Linked DNA regions of Homo sapiens: regions 2 and 3 are each linked to region 1. The links are contacts of gene promoters, found by promoter capture Hi-C in blood cells and fetal thymus (Javierre and others, 2016). All regions are on one chromosome and are shown on one strand. Each heading gives the region's core, a stretch centred on a gene start or on the middle of the fragment in contact. The rest is flanking DNA. Distances are from core to core; before and after follow the strand shown.

Region 1 (3,573 bases), core at 238-2,737:
CTCGCAAAACAAATTATCTTTGCTTTTTAATCAGTTATAATCTGTTGCTGTTGTTATTGCAAAGATGTTGCCAAGGATAAAAGCCCATGCAGATGCTTCGGGTTTGGGCAATCTTATTCCTGCGCACTGCTTCCCCAGACCCCTAAGCTTCCCCCTCCATTTCTCACAATTCCATTCAGGGCTCAGAGCAGGTGACTGCAGCGATTTGGTTCCAATAAAATCGAAAGTAAACGTCTCCTGTGAAAAGTCCCGGGCTGTAAATTAGAAATGTTTATGCTGATTTCCCATTGTATGGAAAAAGCTCCTGGGCGAAACAGCTTTGAGCCCGAGAACGATTTAAAAAGCTGGAGCTGTGTACACAGCTCTGAGCGTTTGAAGTTGTTTAACCATTGTGTGACCAGAAAGAAGAGTGACGCGGCAGGAAGAAGAAGCCGGGTCTTGGGGAGAGCGGAGGCGGGTCAGGGTGGGCAAAGGCAGCCGATGCCAGGAATACAACCGCCCTTCGCGCCGTTCCAAACTAAGAGATGGCAGCGGTTTCCCAGCGCACTGCTGGAAGTGTGCTCCAGTAGACAGGGTGTGGGCAAGATGCGCGGGCAGACAGTCCGCACTCGCCACATGTGCTGGGGTGCGAGATCTAGATCTGCGCCATCTCGGCTTTCATTCCCCATTCCCTGTCTCTGTTCGTAACGCTCAGAGACTGTTTTTCCTCTTTTACATCCACGGCCCTGTCATTTGAAGGAAAGGGCTGGTTGGCCAGCATCTACCGAACAAAGACTGGGCGTCGTAGGCAGCACCAAAATTAAGACTATTTGAGAAACTTAGAGAAAACCGAGGGACAGCGATGGGTCTAGGGCTGGATAAGGAATAATGAGCCCTTCTCCTCCCTCCCCACAGACGCCTCCTTCACGCGGGAACCCGGTCCTCCTTCTTCCGACGCAGAGAGAGAAGCGATTCCACAGGTGGAAAATCTGAGACCGGCTGGAGGGAGGTTCGGGGGTGCACGGCACTGAGCTGACAGGGCTGACTGGAGACAGCATACTTTTGGGGTGTAAGGGCGATAATAGAAAGAAGGGGACCAGGACCAAGTGGACAGAGGATATGAGGGTGTGCGCCCATGGGGATCTGTAGAAGAGAGGCCGCGGGGGTGCAAAATCAGTAAGGTGAACGGGCTGATGGCCAATGCAAAGCCAAAGGGGAGTAAGAAATAAAGAGAAAGGAAAGAATATTAAATCGCGGGAGAATGAGAAAATAAACCCGCAAAAGGGAGAGGAGGGGGCGAGGGCGCCTGTTACGGCGTGGGTGGGGTTGACAAGAATAGAGTACATTATGCAGTTCATTTAGTTAACAAGTGAAATAATGAGGAAGCGTGCAGAGTGAATGCCAAGAGAAAAGGCACAAAAACCCTATTGAGAGGCCCCGGCCGCTCCTGGCGTAGTCCATCACATGGCAATAGTCCTATTTAAGCCGCGCCGCCGGCGCCTTTCAGCACCACTAGCGCTGGCCAGCACCCCGCGCTCTTTGGGCGGTGCCCACGGCAGCAGAGGCTACTGTTTCAGCCTAGGTCTCAGCCGCGCGTTCAGCCTCCTGGGCAGAGGCAGCTGCGGGATACCGCGGCCAGGGAAAGCGCGTGGAGAGCCGAAAGGTGCGGTGGGCGCAGAGGGCGGGCTGGCTGCGGGGCGACCGCGCGCCGGGGCCATGCCGCGCTCCTTCCTGGTGGACTCGCTAGTGCTGCGCGAGGCGGGCGAGAAGAAGGCGCCCGAGGGCAGCCCGCCGCCGCTCTTCCCCTACGCTGTGCCCCCGCCGCACGCGCTGCACGGTCTCTCGCCTGGCGCCTGCCACGCGCGCAAGGCTGGGCTGCTGTGCGTGTGCCCGCTCTGCGTCACCGCCTCGCAGCTGCATGGGCCCCCCGGGCCGCCCGCGCTGCCTCTACTCAAGGCTTCCTTCCCACCCTTCGGCTCGCAGTACTGCCACGCGCCCCTGGGCCGCCAGCACTCTGCTGTGTCGCCCGGGGTCGCTCACGGCCCGGCCGCCGCTGCTGCTGCCGCCGCGCTCTACCAGACCTCCTACCCGCTGCCTGACCCCAGGCAGTTCCACTGCATCTCTGTGGGTAAGCGGGGCCGCCGCGCAGAGGGACCGGGCAGAGGTGATCCGAAGCAGGATGGAGAGCCAGAGATGGAGGAAGAGGGACCCTGGGCTTTCTGGGGGCGGTGAGGGTCATGTCGGGGACTAAGGGGGGCGCTTGGGGTGGAGTGAGGATAGAGGGCCGGGACACAACGCCAGGAGGCGGATGAGGGCAGACGTCCAGGTCCTGGAGTGTGGGCCGGGGTAAGTGAGGGCTGGGATCCAAGGCTCTCCATGAAGGGGAAGGGGTTCCAGGGCTGCATGACTCCGGGAGAATCAGGATCTCGGAGCTGGACAAGGAGCGCTCACTGTAGCTCTGCTGTGGATTGTGTTGGGGCGAAGAGATGGGTAAGAGGTCAAAGTCGTAGGATTCTGGCGACCGCCTACCAAGGGATTGGGTCCACAGCACAGAGGTCTGATCGCTTCCTTCTCTGCTCTGCCACCTCCAGACAGCAGCTCTAACCAGCTGCCCAGCAGCAAGAGGATGCGCACGGCTTTCACCAGCACGCAGCTGCTAGAGCTGGAGCGCGAGTTCGCTTCTAATATGTACCTGTCCCGCCTACGTCGCATCGAGATCGCGACCTACCTGAATCTGTCCGAGAAGCAGGTGAAGATCTGGTTTCAGAACCGCCGAGTGAAGCACAAGAAGGAGGGCAAGGGCAGCAACCATCGTGGCGGCGGCGGCGGGGGTGCCGGTGGTGGCGGGAGCGCACCGCAAGGCTGCAAGTGCGCATCGCTCTCCTCAGCCAAGTGCTCCGAGGATGACGACGAATTGCCCATGTCTCCGTCCTCCTCAGGGAAGGACGACCGGGATCTTACGGTCACTCCCTAGGCGCGTGTCTCCCTAGGTCGCCCACCCCAAGACCTCCCTGCGCCTCGGAGACTAGTCCTGGGACTCAGCGCTGATTCCCAGGCACCCGCAGCCAAACCACTGCCTGGCATGGATTTGGCACTGCTTTGCAGAGGTCCCGGGCCTGGGCAGGGCTGAGAGCTTGGCAGAGACTGGACCATGGCGTCCCCGCCCCAGGGCTCGCTCGTGTCCAAAGCCAACTCCAAGCTGTGAACACTGTAAGCGCTCGAGTCCTCCTGGGCAGTGCAGCACCGCGGCCCCCGCCCGCAAGCCTGCTTGGCGCAGCGCCTTGCTGGCAGCCGGCGCCTCCTAGCCCGCCCTCTCTGGGCTGGCTTGGGCTTCCTCGCTTACTCTACTCTCCTCCGCTCTCGGTCAAGGTCGGCGGCCTTGGATGCTCGTTCGCTTCTCTTTTTAAAATGTCTTTTTGTCCCTCCCCACCTCTTTCCTGTGATCATTTATTCACTCGGCCCCCGCCCGCCAACACACACATTTATGAACCCCCACTTTTTTTTTCCTTCTCCTTTTCCCTTCCCCTCCTCAGGGAGCCTCCTCCTTCAGTCAGTCCATTTGTCCCTTGATCTGGCCTTGCTGTCCTCAGTCCC
Region 2 (3,598 bases), core at 669-3,168, 180 kb after region 1:
ACAGAGCCAGAGCTAGAGCTGACATCTAAGGGCAGCAAAGGGTGGGGAAAAAAAGAGACCCTGGTAAATGAAGCAACAGTAAAACTGCAGGAGTGGCCACGATCAGGTTATCAAAAGGATGCCTCTGTTACTGACAGAGTAGAGGCCATTCCACATTCTTCAGAGAGGGTCCAGGCATGCAGGATCCTGGCTGGTGGCAAGGGCAGGGGCCACAAAGGGGGTGGGAAGCAGGAGGCTGTTGGAAGGGCGGGCTGCCCCTCCAAGCAGATGAAAAACTCCTGAAATCCAGACATCACTGACACAGCTCCCTCCCTGTTCAAAGGTCCTAATATTTGCTCTGACTAAGGGGACCATGCTCTGCCCGATATTTGTGGCTCCTGGAAACTGGGGAGCCCATTGGCTAACATAACCCAGTTAGGGCAGGCCATCTCTATCCACCTTAGTATGTAGGTTGACTTTCTGAATCTTTTTTAGATCAAGAAAATTGTCCAGCCAGGCACAGGGGCTCACACCTGTAATCCCAGCACTTTAGGAGGCTGAGGCAGGAGGATCACCTGAGCCCAGGATAGCAAGACCCTATCTCTACAAAAAAAATTGAAAAATTAGCTGGGTGTGGTGATATGCACCTATAGCCTCAGCTTCTTGGGAGGCTGAGGTTGGAGGATGGCTTGAACCCAGGAGTTCGAGGTTACAGTGAGTTATGGTTGTGCCACTGCACTGTAGCCTGGGTGACAGAGGGAGACCCTGTCTCTAAAAATTTTTTTAATTTGAAAAAAGGAAAATAAAACTATCCAAATAATATAGTCCTTCTATACCTTGCACAGGAAACTCTTACCTTGCATTGACCTGAATTCCAGGGATAATTAAGGAGGAGTGAAAAGGAAGAGAATGTCAGCTTTCAAAATTATTCAGCTTGGCCATCTATACTGATGTGGAAAAACAGCTCAATCTCTACTTAATTTGGAGTTTAGGGAGTCTTTCAGCCATTGCACTCAATCAGCCATCTACTCACACAAAGAAAGGCTCAATAATGGTTGGTTTGACCCCAACAACCCTGCCTTGCCCTGCCACAGCCCACTCAGCTAACATCTCTGGGAAGGAAATCAATGACATCGTCCTTTCTGTAGGGCCTCCGGAGAGTCCGCCACCTGTCCAGCCCCATCAGGCCACAGTGGATCCCAACATGTCCATCCTGAACAGCAGGGAGGGGCCGCAGCTGCCTACAGCCGCCCAGGCTTCATTCACAGAAGCAGATGTCTCCTTGCCCAGTGGAGTGAAGCATATTTTCTTCCCAAGCAAACTGGGTGTCTGACCCTCTCTACCTGAGGAAAGGTTTCTGAATTAATTGGGAGGTCATTGTGGGCTAACATGTTACCACTCAGGGACCAGGCTGCAGGATAATGGGATAAGAAAAGCCAGCTGTTTTACTCTTGTTGTGAAGAGACCACCAAGATTTCTGATCCAAGGCAGGGAACAACTTTTTTTTTTTTTTTATGCTTCTCTATCCAAAATATATTCTCACATCCAAGAGATCAAGGAAAATTAAGAGCCTCAGGAGAAAGGGTAATATTTGGGTACAGAAATCTGGTTTGGTACATTGGGTAAAAGTTAGGCAAATAAATAGTCGTTGCCCATTTTCTTCCTTTCTTCTGAAACTAGGGCCTGTGGACACTGGGCATTGTATAACACATTCTTTGTGGTGGGTGAGGACAGAGGATGATTTAAATCCACAAGAGGGAGTGACTTGGAGGTCTCAAAGATTGGTGTCCCTACTGGGAACCAGAACTTCCACCCCAAAGGAAACCTCTTGATGCTAGGAGCCCAGGCTCCCCGGGCAGCACCAGCCAACTGTTACCACGTGGCTTTGGCGTGGAGAACTTTCAATGAACATTTGTTCCCTCACCATTGTCTCGTGCCTGGAATGACCTTTGTTTGCCACATGAAAATATGTTCCTAGGAAGTCCTACAGGGTAAGTTTCATGTGGCTAAGGGAAGGAGCTTAAATAAAGGTTCTGCTCCTCTTGAGTTACTGTCCCATTGGCTAGCTACATTCCCTGGAGGGGAGTCAGGGGTCTTAAAGTCTGTGTAACCTTTCCATTTTACAAAGGTGAACCCAAGGCTCAGAGAGGTTAGGTGATTTTCCCCAAGTTGCACAGCTAGCTGTTCAAGTCCCTTAAAGTAAATGAGCTACAGTATGTGCATTCTTTGCAACCCATAGCGATCTGTATAGATGTTTATTATTACTACAGCTGCTGGTGCCACCCTGGCAACATGGCACCCCAAACACAAAACCAACTAGCACGATTAGAGAATCCCATTTTCCCACTCCCACCCCCTGCACCAAATAGCACCAGAACAATCAGGTTCTGCTATTGCTACAATTCTGACCATGCTCCAGGTCCTATGTCTTTCACAGGCACCCCATAACTGTGGTTTATTCATTTATTGCATGAATTTTCCATAAATTCCATCCCAGATTTTTCTCCAGTTGACAAAGATGGTATCCATCTACTTTTGTCTCACAGTAAATACTTTCTTAGAATAACTCCTCTTGGGCCGGGCGCCGTGGCCCACGCCTGTAGTCCCAGCACTTTGGGAGGCTGAGGCGGGTGGATCACGAGGTCAGGAGTTCGAGACCAGCCTGGCCAACATGGTGAAACCCCGTCTCTACCAAAAATACAAAATTAGCTGGGAGTGGAAGCGCGCGCCTGTAATCCCAGCTACTTGGGAGGCTGAGGCAGGAGAATCGCTTGAACCCGGGAGGCGGAGTTTGCAGTGAGCCGAGATCACGCCATTGCACTCTAGCCTGGGCGACAGGGTGACACTCCGTTTCAAAAAAAAAAAAAAATCAGTCAGAACTGATATCCTGTGGCTAATCTCTAGAAATGTGTCATATTTAAAATGGGTAAAGATCATGTATAGAATTTATGTTGCCCTTTTCCCTTTCTTTCCTTCCAATTTTAGTGTCTGTAGACATCTTTTGGGCACACAGACCAAAATGCCTACCTTTCTGGGTTAATAAAGAGGAGGCCCCATTCCGTATCCCAGTTAAGTTACACAGGTGAGTGACAAGCCCGGGTCGGCTCCTGAGTTCTCATCCGGAGCTGCGCTCTCCCGTCTCTTTACTGGGAGCGTTCTCCTGCCGGGGCTTGGACATTTCCAAGGGAAGTGAAAATCCACAAAGCTGCCCCCACTTCGTAAGGGCCTGTGCCTGGAGGGTCGTCGGGTTACAGAAATTGAAATCAGCTCTTTGCCTTCCAACTCTTCTTGGCCTTGCCACCGCGATTGGTTTTGTTTTCTTTGTTTTTAACGAATTGGTAAGTAAAATATTAGTTGTTCACCCTGAAATCTGCCCTAACCACTTCCGTACCCCCTGAAGCTCGCTGGGCGCGCCCTGGGCTGTCCTTCCCTGAGCAGCCGGGCCTAGAGTCAAGGCGCGATGATTGCCGCGCAAGCTAGGGTCCACGCGGCCGGGGCTCCTCTCCCGCCTCGGGCGCACCAGAGGCCAGAAAGCGGAAAGCGGCTCTGCCAGGCCAAGGCCGACAGAAACCGAGAGCATGTCGCTATTTGCCGGAGAGAACTGCCCTGCCAGGCTGCC
Region 3 (3,632 bases), core at 264-2,763, 230 kb before region 1:
AATAATTAACATTTGGGCTTAGCCTGTGAAAAGCTAATGCCTTTACATGCATTATTTCATTTAACCTTCACAAAAGTCCTGAAATTATATATTATTATTGACCCCATTTTACAGATGATGAAACAAACTTAGGGAGGTCATGTAACTTGTCCTGAATCATGTTAATATAGGCAACTGTCCTGGGATTCAAAATTTACGTATGTTAAAAGAATGTACTATATATTAATACAAATAGTATTTTGTATATGTTTATATAGTGTGATAGACTACATGTACATATTGTATATATGCACCTACACAAGAACTATCCCATTAAGTGTACAGTGTAAGATAATGTCTCAGAAGGTTTTAACACTTATTAACTGTTAAGAGAATGTTGTAGATAATTAAAATTGTTAATAATATAAAAAATACAAATTACATTCACAGAATTATAACATTTCCTTAAATCACATTAGAGAATTGACATGTATTTAACTGTTAATAATGGCATTTATCAAATCTCTAAATCAGGGCCTGGAATTCTAGGCCTATCTACCCTTCTCCAGATGTGAAATCTATACTCTTGAAATTTTACCAAAGGAGCTATGTGTAATAGCAGCATAGTATTCCCAGAAAATGTTATGACCAAGGAGAAAATCTGTAAATGTTTTAAGGCAATCTCCTATCTAAAGGTATGAAATTTTTGTCAGCAGCCTTCAAAATTAGACAAACACAACTTTATTCTGAAGACAACTCAGGTAAACTCAACCTTGAGTATATTCATTTAAGCAGGTTCAGCCCTTACATATTTAAGCAAAGTGTGGGTATTTTATTACTCTAGGTGTCTAAAATGTATGCAATTTTTACCCAGGAACCCAACCAAACTTCAAAGATTATACTCAGTTTGCTTCAAGGAACTTCCTAAAACAAACATGAATGTTTATCAGAACAGCTACTGGGAAGCTTTATAGAAGACTAATATATACTTTAATTTTTTCAGAATGATTATAATTGTCTGAAAAGATTGTTTTGGTGAATGTGTATGTGTTTTCCCTAGGAGACCTTTACTTTTCTGTATCAGGATTTGACAAAACAAATGGAGCATCTTAGTAGTAAATAGCTAAATGAACACATTCCATTTCAAGTGGTTTTTCTAACCAGCCAGGTTTGCAGAGTGCCTGGAATAGAATAAATTCAGCATCACTATTTAGAACATTGTCATATAAAATTAAAGAGAATGAGAATTAGCATAGTTATGACAGAAAAATACATGTGCCCACAACAAATTGAATTAAGGAGAGTTTGCTATAGGAATACTGGAATTATTAATTACAGTTTTTCAAACTCTCTTAAAACTATAATGTTGTTATATACACCCCTATCTCAAATTATAAAATTCAATAACATAAAAGATTCAATTATCAACTTGTACCTTATATTATAGTTTTATATGTATAAAAAACTTGTAAAGCAAGGACTAGCTATATGAAACAACACCTATTCAAAAAGTCCTGTTTAAAACAATTACCCCTTTTCCACAGTCATTATTTAAAGGCAAATTATAGGTTTCCTTCATACATTTTGGTTTTGCTCAGAAATGAGAATGAAGTCTGTGATTATAATTTCTTTTTAGTATTAACTAAATCAAAGACCAATGACAAGTCTGTAGAGAACTTAAGCTCAGAAAACCATATAAACCCAATGGGCCAAAAATACTGTGTCTTTAAGCTATGCTTTCTTAGGGTACCAGAGACAGACTCCAAAGCTAATTATTCACTCAAATGTTACTTTCAGGTGACAATAAATAAGTTTTTGCTTAGTAAAGCAATTTAATTTTACTTAAGGAGAATTACTCTGGTAGGTCACATTTAGCTTTTATTTTTGCATAATTGGGTAAGCATAACATCATTGTTTTAAAACTTCTGGCCCACTGGAAGTTAAGAGTTCAAATGAAGGATGAAATGAAGTAAATAATATCAAGAATGCTAAAGTATCATCCTTTCAGATTTTTGGACTGAAAGTGAGGTAGCATCAAAATTCTCAGCTCAGGTAGAATACATTATAAAACCAGTGAAATACTGATTCTGAAGAAACAGTAACAAAGCTTAACATATGGAAATTTTAAATGATTTAGGGTAATATTCCTCTAAGCTTTAACATAAAAAGAAATATGCTATATATGTACCTATCAAATACGTAAATATGCTATATATGTACCTATCAAAATTCATGATTCATATGTTTAATCTTCATGTATCTAATTCAGGTTCTGTAGGCAACAGGCTCAATTATTAAGCATAGATTTGTCAATCTTGTCTTATGTTTTTTCATCAACTAACTCTTATATTTAAATAAGCAACCCAAGATAAATTCCACTTTCAAGTAGGATTAAACAGATAGAAGATTTCACGCTTCTTGTTAATCGCCTGGCAAAGGAAACTTCCCCTCCAAGAAACTATCTCCAGATCTAAGGAACAAAGCAGTCACTTTCCAAGGTAGCAAAACATATACATTTCATATTCCAAACACCTATATTTTTCAACAGAATAACAACCCTCATTTGAATCTTTTTTTTAAAAAAACTGCTTTATTGAGGTGTGACTGACACACAAAAAAACCTTCATTTAAATCTTACCAGCTTGTAACAATGATCCTTTGATGGTGGCATAAAAAAAAAAAAAAATCCTCACCTTATGTGAGCTTGGTCTGCTATAATACGGTGGTGGTGTGTGGTGCTGGCTGCTGCTGCTATGATTTCCTGCTTCTCTAATGGTGTTACCAGGCTGGGGTTTCCCTGGTCTAGCAATTGTTAAATTCACTCTCTCTCCACTGGCCTGGAGAAAACACAAATACATTACCATAAGTGACTAATGATGTTTGTCATTTTAAAGATTACACACAGTGTAATTTTCAATGAACTTCTTAATCACTGTACCAGGGCGTCATCTGGACAGTGACTGCAAGCACCTGGTGGCAAGAGGAATGAGTTCATTTCATTAGCTAATATCTTAAAACTTCAGCAGTTGAAGCACATACACACAAAAATCTTGGGCATGCCGTCTGCAACCCCACCTCCAAAATGACCAAGGCAAAGTGGTCACACTGCCTGGGCTCTTATTGCCCCATGATTGGTAACTTTTCTTGTAATACTTCTTTGCATCTTCAAGGTTGGCCTTAATATTGCAAGACAGAGCAAAGGAAATAAAAGGAAGAACTGCTTCAAAACTTGATTAAAGTCCATTGTGACTTTTGAAATAAATTTCCATGGTGGCTACTTCAGAAATCATAATGAAATTCTGCACAGCTTTGTTTCTGCTGCTATAGGTCTGAGTCAAAAGTAGGATATCGGCTTCAACATTCTTGAAAAGAATGACTACAGAAATCCTGCATAACAAGACTTTATATGTATGTGTGTATATATATATATATATATAGCATACTTGTGTGAATGTGACACACGTCTCCAGTGTTAAATTATTTTAGAGGTTCATGACTGTCGTTTTAAATTTAGAGGCTTGTTAGCTATCATATTTTGAACATATGTTTACATTGGTTACATTTTTACAAGTTATTTAATACTTCCTTTTAAATTATAAGTCTAATTTATTTGATGCTGACTCTTGGTCATGACCACAATGCCCAATTTTACT

Evidence for each region. The method cuts DNA at HindIII sites, captures the fragments that hold promoters and counts their contacts. A CHiCAGO score of 5 or more calls a contact.
Region 2: a fragment that was not itself captured here is called in contact with the fragment with the promoter of GSX1 in region 1 in 1 of 17 cell types (naive B cells); the score reaches 5.6 in naive B cells.
Region 3: a contact is called between a fragment that was not itself captured here and the fragment with the promoter of GSX1 in region 1, in 2 of 17 cell types (endothelial precursors and megakaryocytes). The highest score is 5.6, in endothelial precursors.

Annotation. Positions count from the first base shown.
Region 1 is chr13:27,790,996-27,794,568 of GRCh38, forward strand. It overlaps GSX1 (GS homeobox 1), which reads left to right and starts at 1,488. Exons shown (of 2, transcript NM_145657.3): 1 at 1,488-2,107; 2 at 2,571-3,573. The coding sequence starts at 1,696. The coding sequence ends at 2,953. RefSeq lists an enhancer at 1,415-2,218. The HindIII fragment of the contact is 6,142 bases long and covers 146-3,573 here.
Region 2 is chr13:27,972,338-27,975,935 of GRCh38, forward strand. No RefSeq gene overlaps it. Among named protein-coding and RNA genes, the nearest start is that of CDX2, 4.8 kb to the left of the region's middle. RefSeq lists an enhancer at 1-275. The HindIII fragment of the contact is 3,920 bases long and covers 1-3,598 here.
Region 3 is chr13:27,557,170-27,560,801 of GRCh38, forward strand. It overlaps LNX2 (ligand of numb-protein X 2), which reads right to left. Exons shown (of 10, transcript NM_153371.4): 6 at 2,673-2,816. Among named protein-coding and RNA genes, the nearest start is that of LNX2, 62 kb to the right of the region's middle. The HindIII fragment of the contact is 1,141 bases long and covers 944-2,084 here.